Linked DNA regions of Homo sapiens: region 1 is linked to region 2. The links are contacts of gene promoters, found by promoter capture Hi-C in blood cells and fetal thymus (Javierre and others, 2016). All regions are on one chromosome and are shown on one strand. Each heading gives the region's core, a stretch centred on a gene start or on the middle of the fragment in contact. The rest is flanking DNA. Distances are from core to core; before and after follow the strand shown. Region 1 holds the start of LINC01549 (long intergenic non-protein coding RNA 1549). Region 2 holds the start of C21orf91 (chromosome 21 open reading frame 91).

Evidence for each region. Contacts are between HindIII fragments. The CHiCAGO score rates a contact against its expected background, and 5 or more counts as called.
Region 1: the fragment with the promoter of LINC01549 here is called in contact with the fragment with the promoter of C21orf91 in region 2 in 2 of 17 cell types (M0 macrophages and M1 macrophages); the score reaches 7.2 in M0 macrophages.

What each region holds. Positions count from the first base shown.
Region 1 is chr21:17,436,481-17,443,283 of GRCh38, reverse strand. It overlaps LINC01549 (long intergenic non-protein coding RNA 1549), which reads right to left and starts at 4,394. Exons shown (of 4, transcript NR_037586.1): 1 at 4,287-4,394; 2 at 1,441-1,610. RefSeq lists an enhancer at 4,182-4,765. The HindIII fragment of the contact is 14,439 bases long and covers 1-6,803 here.
Region 2 is chr21:17,813,231-17,820,725 of GRCh38, reverse strand. C21orf91 (chromosome 21 open reading frame 91) reads left to right here and starts at 1,370. Exons shown (of 5, transcript NM_001100420.2): 1 at 1,370-1,423; 2 at 2,401-2,534. The coding sequence starts at 2,408. All of the region lies in intron 2 of LOC124900465 (a long non-coding RNA gene), which reads right to left. RefSeq lists an enhancer at 676-725 and a silencer at 976-1,755. The HindIII fragment of the contact is 2,618 bases long and covers 1-1,923 here.

The DNA of each region.
Region 1 (6,803 bases), core at 3,145-5,644, 380 kb after region 2:
GAATTCTATCAACACGCCTGGACAGACTGGTCACAAACTATTGTCTGCTCTGCTGGCCCAAAAGACTTTATCCCAGGCCACTGTAGGTTCTCCAGGCCCATCGAAATCCCCTAAAAATCATCTACACGTCTCTATCTGTCTTTCCCCTAAGAAGTATATACAACCATCTGTACCTCACTGGGATATTGGACAATCATTCTGTGATTCTCCCTCATGCTCACTAACACATCTGTAGGCCATTTTGCCTATTAATCTGCCTTTTGTCAGTTGATTTTTCAGTAAGCCTTCAGATGGCAAAGAGAAGTTTTTCCTTGATCCCTATAAATTTATAGTAGAATGTATGCTATAAAAGACCTGATAGCCCCATTGTCATGGATGACATTTCTCTCATGTGGGTGTGCCAACTCGTGCAGATGACAATTTTATAAATGTGTGTGCTCCTGTGAATTAGACTGTTATAGTAACATTAAACTGCTAAAGAACTTCACCTACTTTCTGGATTTGCAAGTAAATAATTTGGCTATTTTTTTTTTCAGTCTAAAGGCAGATAGCTGATAAGCTACATGAATTGGCCCAGTGGATTAAGTAATTTTTCATAATGCCTGATTACTAGTTTCTGAGAGTAGGATATCTAGAGAAGGAGTTTTTGGGGGAGATAGGAACAGAGGCTGATCAGTTTATTTCTTTATGCTTTGACCTCCTCTAAGAAAAATGCTGGCTGCTACAAAAGTTTCTATCTTAACATTTTTCTGCAAGTTTGTTATTACCATTTATGAACTCCCCATTTCCCACAGAGGAAGGAAAGAATAGACAGAACTGAGTGATAAACTAGACAAAGGGAATGGCTTAGTAGGACATGGCTTCTGCCTTTTGTGTTTCCAGTATTTGTCTACTGCTAAGGAAATCAGTATGTGGCACATAACTGGGGCAAAGGATTCAACACTCAGCACTTCGAGCAAGAAGTCACCATCATTAGCATTATTGTGGCAGCTACAAGGAGACGCCCAACAATTTACTGCAAATGACATAAAATAGATACACTGACTCCCAGCTGGATTTTTACTATTTTTGTCCACATTCTGAGGGCTATCAAAATACTTTTTAATTCACTTCCAGACCATCCCAACTTCTACAATGACTCTTTCTCTCTACAACCAGCTAAATTTAATTTCATTATGATTTGCCAAAGGTTAACTGAGAAAAGTAACAGCCAAGAATTAAGAAAACAGGTATAACATGAAAGAGGGAAAAAATCATTTATTTTGAAGGGTGGCCTGACCAAGCAACATGGCTCCAGAGTGGAATGAAAGAGATAAAAATAGGAAGACGATTGGGTGAAGCAGAAAAAAAAAAAACAGAAGCAGTAGAAACAGATCAATGAGAATGTGTTTCTAGAGCCTATTATGTTTCTGAAGTTGAAGTGATAAACATATTGCATACCCTTTGTTCTAGAGACCTTTCAAAGGACAGAATTCCTTTTCTCAAGCATTGAGCTCTCTCCATCTTTAGAGTCTTTTCAGTCTGTTTCACACAGTGTCAGAAGAAGGTTGCCTCAAAAGTTGGTAGAATTACTGTAATTCCCTCCATGACAGTAGTAAAGTTGGATCCTGCTGATTAGAGCAAAACACAAAAGCTCACTTCCAGAGAACTGTGATCTTCTCATAAAACAGTTGGCATCGCCTGAAAGGGAGGTATTGTTGGTAGGTAAGCCAATGTCCTAGGGCCTGGGACTCAGCCAGCATCTCATGTAACAACCATGCTGCCTATCCACTTTTGTTTGTTTTCCCAGACAAAAATGATTGCAACACATTTCAGAGCCAATGCAAAAACTCTGCCTTTGTAATATGCTGACTTGCTGTCAATAATTAGATGTTCTAAATTGCTACACTAGACAATGAGGTCCAACTTAAAAAAAAATACAAAAACCCAGTTAAAAGCTCAATTGGCCAAGAGGTTATTTCTGCAAAATGATCACCAGTGGTTTTTTTCTTTTCTTTTATTTTTTGTGGGGGGCGGGTGTGGAGTAGATGAAATGTGTCCAGAGAAGAAAAAAAAATCATACTTCTGTAAATATTTTCTTAACTTCCTTTTGCCAGGCAGCTCTGGTTTAGTGAGACATACACTAGGTTAAATTTCAAAACACTTGGATACTAACTGTGCTACTTTGGAGCAAGCCATTTAATCTCCCTGAGGCCCAGATCATTCATCTATAAAGTGAGAATAGTAATACTTCGACTGACCACGTCACAGTATGATTAAATATCCAATGATATATTGTACATGAAAGCATTTATCAACTGCAAGTCATGATACTAATGTGAGGACTGTAGAGTTGCCTTTATTTTCCTCAGAGCAGATTTAATTCTGGGGTGCTGGAGAGAAGTAGGAGAGGTTCAGCTCCAGCTCTATCTCATTTCCCCACGTCTGAGAGGCTGGAAGAGAAAGGAGTGGATCTTGAGTTGGCAACTCCCATTTCTCCATCAGCAGAAAGAGAAAACTGGTTTTCAGGTTTCCTCCTACCCCATGAAGTAAGAGTCCCTTCCTCTAAATATTAAAGAAATTTATTAACTATCTAGATTTTCCTTGACTTTTGCTTCTTTATCTAGGCTATGTTGTTCAATATGACAGCCACTAGTGATTTGTGGTTACTGAACTCAAGAAATATGGTTAATCAAAATTGAGATGTGCTGTTAGTGAAGAATACATGCCAGGTTTTGAAGATAATAGTCCAAAAATACCTGAAAGAATGTAAAATATCTCACTAATGTTTTTTATGTTGATTTCACATTGTAAAGATAATATTTTAGATATATTAGATTGTACAAGATATGTTGTTAAAAATAAATTTTATGTTTCTTTTGACTTTTTCAATTGTAGCTACTATAGTTTAAAATTTTATATTTTATATCACTTTATATGTCTTTTTTTTTTTCCAAGATGGAGTCTTGCTCTATTGCCCAGGCTGGAGTGCAGTGGTGTGATCTCGGCTCACTGCAACCTCTGTCTCCCAGGATCAAGCGATTCTCCTGCCTTAGCCTCCCGAGTAGCTGGGATTACAAGTGTGTTCCACCACTCCTGGCTAATTTTTTGCATTTTTAGTAGAGATGGGGTTTCACCATGTTGGCCAAGCTGGTCTCAAACTCCTGACCTCAGGTGATCCACCCACCTTGGCCTCCCAAACTGCTGGGATTACAGGCATGAGCCACCGCACCCAGCCTCACTTTATATTTCTATTGGATTTGGACAATCAGAGAGGAAGGAAAAACCCGAGTCCCCAGTAGCCTTATTTCATGCCTCTTTCTTTCCATTTTTCAGTCTCTCTCCACCCTCATGCGTTCCAGGTATTGGGAAGTCAATTCTTTTGAGACAAACATCAAGAAACCAAAGAAAGATCAATAGGAAGATCATTTCATCACATTTATAGCACATGGCACCAAATAGACAGTCAGCATCCATTCAGTCAATCAATCATGCATTTAATTAAAATGAAGAATACAGAAATTTGGCAATCTCATGTCCTGAAAAAACAGATACACTAGGAATGAGTAATTTCTCTTTTCACTCTTACAAGTTCTGAAAAGGAGGAGATACTATGATTAGGCTATGAACTATACTGTGTATAGTCACTTATTAAAATCTTATTTTATATAATGGCTATCTGTAGGCATTTAAAAAAAACTCCCTTCTAAAGGTCTAGATATCTTGAGGTCAATAAATGTGCTCTGTATCCAATAAGTACTGAGCAAATGTTGTTGAATATAATGAATAAAATAAATGATATAATCAGTCTATCACTTTATCTTTCTAACCAAAATTAAAATTTGAAGCTAAAATGTTGTATGGTTGATTCGATGATGATATAGGCATTAAAACATGAGTTGTGCCTTAAGGTATGCTTTGCTTTTATCTGATAAAACAATCTTATTTAAATTTTTTTTTTTTAAATAATAGAGACTGGGTCTCAATATGTTGCCCAGGCTGGTTTTGAATTCCTGGGCTCAAGCAATCCTTCTGCCTCAGATTCCAAAAGTGCTGGATTACAGGTGTGAGCCACCACACCCAGCCAAAAAAATCTTATTTTTAAGTCACTTCAAAAAGTAACCCATTTGAGAGTGAATAAATTCTTCCCAGATTAAATCCTGGCTGATGAAGAACACTTATTCCTAAAATAAAATCCCCATCCATTTTTGTCATCTCAGCAACCATCTAAAAATTGTCCCAGGAACAAACTGATTCACCCTATATGAAATAACAGAATAACAGAGAAGAACGATAATCCCATTAACCTGGTAGATCCGGAATGAAATGCAGCTGGAGGATGGAGCAGATTGGAGGTGGGAACAGGGAACACTCAGCAGGCTCCCAGCCCCGAACACCCCTGGAGTCTCAACAGCCTCAATCCATCTGGAAGGGAGGGCTTGGGGGAAGGGCTGAGCATGGCTGCAGGGATCAAAGCTAAGCAGGGGAAAACAGCTAGAGCACTGTCTGCTCTTTGAGCAAAGATAATAGAGTCCTCTCTGTGGTGAAGAGAATGAACACACAGGAAGATTTAAAAACACAACAAACCCGGAGCCGATCAGATTCCTTTATTCCATACCTCAAACTCATCAGGCTTGTCCTCAATTCAGAGTCTCTCTATATTGAATTACAGGGTTAGAAAAATAAAGGGCATCCCATTGAGTGCTTTTCAAACAGTGGGTTGCCACTCTTTAGTGTGAGAGAATCAATTCAGTGGGTGGAGGTTTGCATTTAGAAACTGAAATAAATTAGAATGGAAAATAGAAGGAATTGCATGGAAAAGGGATAAATATTGTTTCATGAATTTTTTGGTGTGTGTGTGTTTGGTACAGGTAAAATACATCTTACTGTAGGCATTAGCCAAACTGTGAAACTGAAAATTAGTCAACTCTATCTCCCTCCCGTATTATTATGGGTTATTAAAATCAGTTCTTCAGGCCTTCAGGAATAGGCTTTTTAGAACCTCCACAGCTAATTCTCTGTTGAGGTATTCCTCCTGCATTCTAGAAATATAGACAATGTCACAGACTCAGTGCAAACCATCCTGAAAAATAGCTCCAGGATCAGGCATTGCATTATGAGGAAGCTAATACTGTTTGTCAGAATCTGAGGGCAGCCTCCCTTTAAAGACCCTAATTAAGGAGAGGGAATGAAGAAAAAATGGTAATAGCATGCCTCAAATGTGAGGCTGCCTCTTGGCCACTATTCATTAGAAAGCCCACAAACTGTGGGCTCTATTTAAGGAACGTCTGGGATGGTTTTGGGCGGGGAAGCAAAACAGACCCAGTCAAATACTTCCCCTTTTATTCTCAACTCTGTTGTCAGCTTACTTTTCTCACCTTGATTTATTTCTTGAAATTTTAGTCAAATTCATTGACAATTTGCCTTATGATTCACAAAGTAGATGAGAGTGAATAGAGAAGCGACCTGACAGAGAAGAGAGCAGGACTATTTAAAAGATTCTGGCAAGAGGTGAGAACATTCCTCGATCCACTATAGAAAACCACCAGTGATCAAACAAACACAGTGAATTCCATTTCTAGGTCTCAAGGAATTAAGCATAACATTCAAAGTTGACTAGATAAAGGAAAGATTTATTATTACTATTATTTTGAGATGGAGTTTCACCCTTGTCATCTAGGGTGGAGTGCAGTGGCCGGATCTCGGCTCACTGCAATCTTCGCCTCCCGGGTTCAAGCGATTCTTCTGCCTCAGCCTCCTGGGTAGCTGGGATTCCAGCTACCCGCCACCACGCCGGGCTAATTTTTGTTTTTGTAGTTGAGAAGGGGTTTCGCCATGTTGGCCAGGCTGGTCTCAAACTCCTGACCTCAGGTGATCCACACGTCTTGGCCTCCCAAAGTGCTGGGATTACAGTTGTGAGCCACTGCGCCTGGTCAAGGAAAGATTATTAATGACAGACTTCATTGCGTTCTGCAAAGCTGAAAGGCAAGGAAAGAACTGGGGGATGGAGGGGGGATTTCCCTAAAAGAAGTCCTAGTAAAGTTGTATATCAAGAAAAAGGCAGATATCTTCATATCCAGACACAAAAGAAAGTTCTTAAGGTTTTACAATGGTATGGCCACTAACACAACCTTTCAAAGAGGAGCAAACGTCCTTATCGCCCCAAGAAATCAAAGTAAACCATGTGAAACCCAAGTGTAGGAAATCCCGCTGCTCAGATAAAGTATCCAGTGTAGCACTGAAACAGCACTATTGCTTTCAGGCAGCCTGGCTTAACCTTGAGTAAAGCCTTTCCTGGGAGTTCAGCTCAGTGAAACAGACATTCTGTCAACTGTATCAGAGACAAGGATTTTAGCTGTAATTATGGTCTGCTAATCTGGTGCAGCTTTAGTTAAACAAACAGAATCAGCACATTATCATTAGGGAGGCAACATAGTTTTCTCTCCCTTCCACAGAGCATTGCTCTAGGAGAGAGACGACTATTGAAAAGTTTGGCTGCTGTTACCAGTTTTACTTCTATCTAATCTTTTAGGAGCTCAGTTTCTCCAAATGAAGAAATGTGTGGCACCCTCCCATCTCAGGATTGCCGAAAAAACACAAAAAAGGCAGTGTTTAAACATGTCGTAACTGGGCACTGAATTGTTCCTGATGAGTCTGTACTGTTCTGTCCTTTCTCTCCCACCATCTCTGGGAAACTGGAATGAAATGGGTCTCACTGCCTACTTTTTTGTCTTTTCTTCCCAGGCCCTTCTCTCCTCTGGTTAACCCGGTCTGAAGACTTGGAGACATCTGTCATATTTTAGATACAGAGGAGTATTCCATCT
Region 2 (7,495 bases), core at 121-2,620:
TAGAACACTTTTATTGAATCACTTTAAAAGAGTCCTTTTTAAAAGAATGCTTTTTATTGAAAAGATGGGTAGAATCCAACATGCAAGGTATCTTAGTCGTAGTTACCTAGAATGAGAAATTCGAAGAGAAAAAGCACAGGCTTTTCATTTCAATTAGTGCATCTCAAACTTCGATGAACATAGGAATCTCCTGGCGGTCTTGTTAAAGTGCAAGTATTGATTTAGGAAATCTCGAGTGGGGCCTGAGATTCTACATTTCTAACAGGAAACCAAGTAATGTCAATGTTGTTTGTTCATCTACTACAATTTAGGTGGCAAGGACACAGATCGCTCCTGCGAGGCACAAATGCCATAACTGGAGTGCTAATTTGGCCCAGAAGTTTCCAAGATCTAGACAGTCCATTCCTAACCATCAGTTCAAGAATGCCTACATGTAGATTGACAGGCTAGCCCTCTTTCTATGTGAGTGCAACCAGAACACATACATATGATGCTGTAGAAAATAACATTGATCTTAGGTCAGTAGCCTTCGGTTCAAGTCCCAGCCTTTTTCTAACCAACTGTGATAACCTGGGTCAATTACTCGTAGGCTGCAACATGAGAGAACAGTTCCTGTTTCTCCTCTGTAGGTTACTGTGAGGACTACAATGGAAAATGTAAGTGAAAGTACTGCAAGAACCATACCCTAAAAAAAACAGAATAGCTTAAACAAAAGTCAAGCAAAGAATTTGAGAACCAAGCAGGACCTAAAAATAAGAGGTGGGGCTTCGGGATTTTTCCCGTGGGCGTTGAGGGATGTACCATATTGGGGGCAGGGGCGCCCCACAACAAATAATGTATTTGAAAAGATTCTGTATTTGAAATTATGCCTCTATCATGACACCTGAATATGAACTTTTCCTTCGTTAGATACTTCAACTGGCACTTAACTATAAGTTCAGTGACAGTATTCTGCTTCTTTCTCCTGAAGTCAAAGTGCCACCCACGCACCTCTCCCGTTCTGCCATCCACCCGCGGCTTTCCTACCCCCGCCGCCTGCGGCCCCCGCCCCGGGGCAGTAGTTTGCACTAGGCTGAAGGGAGAGGTGGAACGGATTCGTCTATCTACGCACCTCGAGGAGGGGTGTGTGAGGAGCTACGTTCCAGAGAACGGTAAGAAACTCCGGCCAGGAAACACGGGATCACAGGAGAACTCGAGGCGAAGGTGCGGCGTCGGTGCAGGAGCGGAGGGGCGGACCCACAGCAGCCCGGCGAGCGCGCAGGTGTGCCCGCGGCCGCGCCACCCTCCCCGCAGCCTTTACGGGATGGAGCCGGCGGGAGAGGGCGGGGCCAGGCGCGCGGCGGCCGCCTCTGCTGCGGCCGGAAACAATAGTGGAGGAACCCGAGCCGCACGGAACGGCGGTGGTGGCCCGCGGAGCCGGACGGTAAAGACCCCGCAGCCCTGCTCCCATCCCACCTGAGCCCCGACCCCCAGTCCCATCGTTCCGCCTCCTTCGAGTTCCGAGCCCCGTGGCCCCTCGCGCTGCTGCGCGCCAGGCGCCCCGACGGACAGACCGACGGAAAGACGGACTTGGGTCCGCGACTCCCTGGGGGCGGCCGCGCGCCCCCAACGCCGAAGGCCGGGCCAGGACCCGGCTCCCCGAGACGCTGAGGCTGGGCGGACCGGCCGCCGTGGCCCTCGGACGCTTTCTTCCCTCTGGGAGGAATCCCGGAGCGATGGGACGAGGCTCTCCCGCCCGCCGGGCTCCAGGATGCCGCGGCTCTCCCAGCTCCGGCTTGGGCCCCTCCGGCGGTGCCCGGCCGGTACCGTGAAGCCGCCGCTCGGCCTTCGGTGTAGTTGCCCCGGACACGGCGGGACGCCCTCCCCGGGTATTCGGTACCCACGTGCATTTTGCTGCCGCCGATCTCCGTTCGATGCGAAGCTTCGCAACTCCGAGTTCGCGAGGCGCATCTGAGGTTCCCCCAATGAAGTTAGCAAAGCAGTGTCCCGTGCAGGTCGTTTTTCCTGTTTCTCACAGCGTTAACTAGGTTGACAGAACCTGGTAGCTGAAAAGGCCTCGCTGCTAAGCCCTCTGATTATTCGAGGTTGGGGGACGAAGGAGGAGGACTAGAATGCCGGCAAATCTCTTTCCTTCAGGTGCCACTAACCCAATCAACTATAGGACAAAAAAGACACGGACATAGTGTCACCTATGGCCTGGCTTTAAGTTTTACTAGCTTTGTGTCTTTCCACAGGAAAAGTGCAATGTTGGAGTGCAAGTATGGCGATGCTTGTTTGATGGAGCTTTTGCTTTAAATGAGCTGAACAGCATCCTTATTTCCTAGAAGTTCCCAGTAAAGGGAACTACCCCAAAGGCAGGTTCATGAAATTGTGTAACTTTCCTTTTCTGTTTCTTAATAGGGGCACTATGAACGAAGAGGAGCAGTTTGTAAACATTGATTTGAATGATGACAACATTTGCAGTGTTTGTAAACTGGGAACAGACAAAGAAACACTCTCCTTCTGCCACATTTGTTTTGAGCTAAATATTGAGGGTAAGGACACAGTATAGTTTTGATCTTATGGAATGAATTTAACACAGCTGCTTTGTACTGATTGTAAGGTAAAACTAAAATGTCTTCAATGATTGGAAATTGTGCTAAGTATGAATAGTGTAGAGATTTGTTAAAGATAAGGTTTCTGGAAATGAAGGTGCAGTTAACAGAGTTACGAATTTAAGAGAAATCTTTTTTTTTTAAAGACCCCTGCAACAACCCCATTTTTCCTAATACAGAAATAAGTATGAGTGTTGACTGGGAAACGTGTTTTCTGGTTTGAGAGCTTATTGAATTGTCAGATTTTAACAGACCTGTGTGTTTTTTATATTAAGAAGTAACATAACAATTTTTTTATTCTTTCGAGCCTATTATGCAAGTATTTGAGTGAGATGAGCCCGAACTCTTTTCTCACCAGTATGATCTTATTATCTGGAAAAATACTTTAAAATTTTTAGATTAACCTCTTTTCAGTGATCACACACACTGTTGGTAATTTTTAAAACCTGAAAAGGTTTTTAAAATTTTTTTAATAATGTCCCTAAGATATATGAAGAAAAATTCTCCAAATCCAAAAAGAAACCCCAAAAAAAAGCCCTATTGGAAGGATTTATTTGGGTTGGTGCAGTTAGTGTTGTCATATTACAATTGATTTTTGGTTTAGATATTTATGAGTCATACTAAAAAAAACCTTAATATTCCTGCAAAAAAAATTTGGCCTGTAATTTGAGTTTTGAGTTGTAACATATCAGTAGAGAGACTTTATTAAACCTCTAGATTTTGGACAGTTTCAAAATAGTTCTTTCCTTTTTTCTGTATTATATATTTGAAATTTTTCATGATCTTTATTTTCTGTTTACTAAGTATGGGGTATGAAATGTTCTTATTGTTTAAAAAAATATAGTGGGGGATTATATACCTTGAAATTCCTGTTAGGACTTGTTATTCAGAAATTATTATGGTCACCAAACAGTATGTGATGGAAGATTATGGATTTCTTGTGGATTACATAGAATATCTATAACTTCAGCTTTAATAAATGTAGTGATTATAGCTAATTTCAAAAGATGACATAACAGGAACAGTGGTGTGTTCCTACAATCTCAGCTACTCCAGAGGTTAAGGTGAGAGGATTGCTTGAGCCTAGGAGTTCAAGTCCAGTTTGGGCAACATAGCAAGACCCCATCTCTAAAAAATTAAATAAAAATAAAAGGATATCTTAAAAATAAGTTTCTTTTACAGTACTTAAATCATGCTGGGGTGAAAATCCAAATTTATGTTCTTTGGAAATAGAGTTGGCTTGTATATTGTTGATACATTGTAGAATTTTAATTTTAGATGAGTAAAGACATTAGAAATTATCTAGTCCAAACCCTGTATTTTACATTTAAGGAAACAGCCAAAAAGTTGGACTGCCCAGGGTTGCTGTAGTGGTGATGGCAAGCTGTTGTTATGTGCCAGGCACTGTGCTAAACCCCTTATGTGGATTATCTTATTTAACTCAAGATAGCTTTGGAATGACTACTGTCATTTTCTATTTTAAATGTGATAGAACTGAACCTTGGCGACCTAAGAAATACAGTTTGAAGTCACACAGCTCATAACTGTTGGTCCTGGACTTTAAAGCCTGGCAGTCTGGTTCTAGTATATGTGATCTTAATACCATTGATCTACTGTCAATAGTTATTTTATAGCAATAGGGCTGATGTTCTAATCCTAATTGGTTATCCTTGCTATTCTCTCAGCCAGCTTTTTCTAACCAGTGTTTGCTGGCAAATCATCATTAATGGAGTTCATGCCATGATCGAATTTTTCCACAGAACCCTAAATTTTCGTAATTGCTTTTCTAGCTTTTTAAAATAAGCCTTTTAACTGGTTCTCAGTCATTATATAGAGAATATACAAATATTACCTTAGGTACCATCTCTTAACATTTCAGCTCTGATAATATCTCAGCATGTAAGCATGGAATAAGTCCTTTGTTTTTGAAATCATAGTTCCCTTCAGTGTAAAAGACAATTCTCAATTTGAATTAGAACTATTTCGTTTAATATTCTATGTATATTCAAGGTTTTATATATTAAAATCCCAATTTAATCTTTGTAAGAAAAATTAGAGTCAAATAATTTCTTCTCTATCTGGTGTCATTTCTCAGCTCTCACAAATACGCATTTTCATTTTCACTACAGTGATCAGCTAGTGTATTACAACTTTTTTGTTTAAGATTTTTGTAGGCCGGCACAGTAGCTCATGCCTGTAATCCCAACATTTTGGGAGGCCAAGGCAGGCGGATCACCTGAGGTTGGGAGTTCGGTACCAGCCTGACCAACATGGAGAAACCCCGTCTCTACTAAAAATACAAAATTAACCAGGCATGGTGGCACATGCCTGTAATCTCAGCTACTCAGGAGGCTGAGGCAAGAGAATCGCTTGAACCCAGGAGGTGGAGGTTGCAGTGAGCTGAGATTGTGCCATCGCACTCCATCCTGGGCATCAAGAGCAAAACTCTGTCTCAAAAAAAAAAAAATTATTTTAGAAAAGAGGAGGGAAATGAGGATCTTGAATTGCACAAAATTTTAGTTTTTATATCAGTATACGGGTCTTTAGAAATCAGTGGGGGAAAAAAGTCATAATAATAATTACATACTAGAAAAATAACAAGGTATATTTGTTGTCGGTAAATCTTTTAAAATATTTTTGAAGTTTTCTTTCCTCTACCAAGTTCCCAACACAATGCCTGTCAATAGACTAGAATGTAAGAGGGGCTTTTTAAAAATGACATTTAACTTTACTAGTTTAGTGTAAATTTTTTGTAGTTTGGTAGTATTGCAGTTGCCTGATTTCTTAGCTTTATAATTGCTAGCTTTGGTCTAAAGCACTCTTCTCCGAGAAGAGGCTGAGTAAAAATAAATTCTCTTGAGGAATAATAACAGTTAAGCTAGTTTTGAGTCCATACATTTGTAGTAAACAATAATAATATTTTCTACTTTTTGGATTGTTGCTTACATCAAATCAACACTGGTTTCCTAATCAATTAGCCTCTTGTTTAAAAGCTGTGTGCATGCATACGTTTATAAAATGAAGACAAAGGAAGGAAGAAATAACAAAAGACAATCTAATCTTGTTGAACAGATTTTGTACTGTGGGCATGGCTCTAAGTTGGCTTTTTCTCTGACTTTACAATAATGAAAAAGAAAGAGGAGCCTACATTTTATGTACTTCCAAGCCACAGGTGATATGCTTTAAGGACCTGAGAAACACACTTTGAGGACTCAGATATTTTTTAATGTTCACAAGGTTGATTTTTTTTTAACCTATGCTTCACCATTTGATATGGTTTGGATCTGTGTCCCCACCTAAATCTCATGTTGAAATGTAATCCCCAGTGTTCTAGGCAGAGACTGGTATTAGGTGATCGGATCATGGAGGCGGAATTCACATGAATGGGTTAGCACCATCCCCTCAGTGCTGTTCTCATGATAGTCAGTGAGTGAGTTATCATGAGATCTGGTTGTTTAAAAGTGTGTAGCACCTCCCCCCCTCACTCTCTTCCTCCTACTCTAGTCAGTTGAGGTGCTGGCTCCCTCTTTGCCTTCTGCCCTGATTGTGAGTTCCCTGAGGCCTCCGCAGAGGCTGATGCTACCATGCTTCTTGTACAGCCTGCGGAATTGTGAGCCAGTTAAACCCCTTTTCTTTATAAATTACCCTGTCTCAGGTATTTCTTTATAGCAGTGCAAGAATGGACTAATTCACCATTAAAATAAATTGTCTGCTTCTCAGATTAGAAGACAGGTGCATAAACTTCCTAAATACTTACAGCCTTGACCCTAAGACACTATGAACTTTTTCATACATATTAGTGATCAAATACTCTAATATGCATCATAGTTCAAACTGCTAAAATCTCTAAAGATATTTAATGACCAACTCACTACCATTCCCTAAGGAATGGCAAAGAGGAAGGCAGCCCAGGGTGGTCAGGAGCTAGTAATGAAACTCAACTGTAAGGTAACAAAGCCCAAAGTGAGACCTAAGCAGGAAGAGATCCAGGGTTTCAATACTGTTGGTTCATACTATCAGTTTTCATCTTGTGCCAAAATAGTGTACAAATAATTCTTAGAGCATTTCTCTCTTCCTATAATTGGCTTGCTTTCTTTTCCATAGAGGAAAAAAAACCTTTTTTTTTTAAGCTAGCTTAGCTTTGTTTAGCTTTTTTTCCTTTCTTCATTTTATTAAAATAAGGGTTTCACTATGTTGCTTAGGCTGACCTTGAGCAATTCTCCCACCTCAGTCTCCCAGGAAGCTGAGATTACAGGTGTGTATCACCTTACACCTAGCTAAAACTTTTTTATAAGATTGGACCAATTCCTGTTACACAGGTTGAGCATTCAAAATCAAAAATCTAAAACTTTTTGAACACCTACATGATGCTCAAAGGAGATGCTCATTGGAGCATTTCAGATTTCAGATTTTTGTTATTTGGAATGCTCAACCAGTAAGTATAATACAAATATTCCAAAATCTGAAATTTGAAACAGTTCTGGTCTCAAGTATTTCAGATAAGAGACATTCAGTCTGTACCAAACAAAGTTTTCAGTGTAAGTTGACCTTGCTAGTTGATGAGTAAGTATGTATCTGGCTGCTCTCTGTGTAGAGCCTCTTGGATTACTTTCAGTTAGTTCTTTCTAGAACCATTCTAGAAGGAGACCCAAAGTCAGCTCCTTAGCAATCTTTCCAACAAGAAAAATCTGTAATCTTGGTTAAGTCGTAGATGAATTAGTGTCTATGTTTAATCTTACTGTTCCTTGATTCTCCGTGTCTTTACCATATACTGTTTGTGGTCAGTAGTCAGGGACCAATTTGAATCTCAATATGAAATTCTTGATTTGGTTTGGAAGTTAGAACTGGTTGTTTATTACTCGAAGGGAACATAAACTGTTCCTCTATGTCCTGCTTCTGAC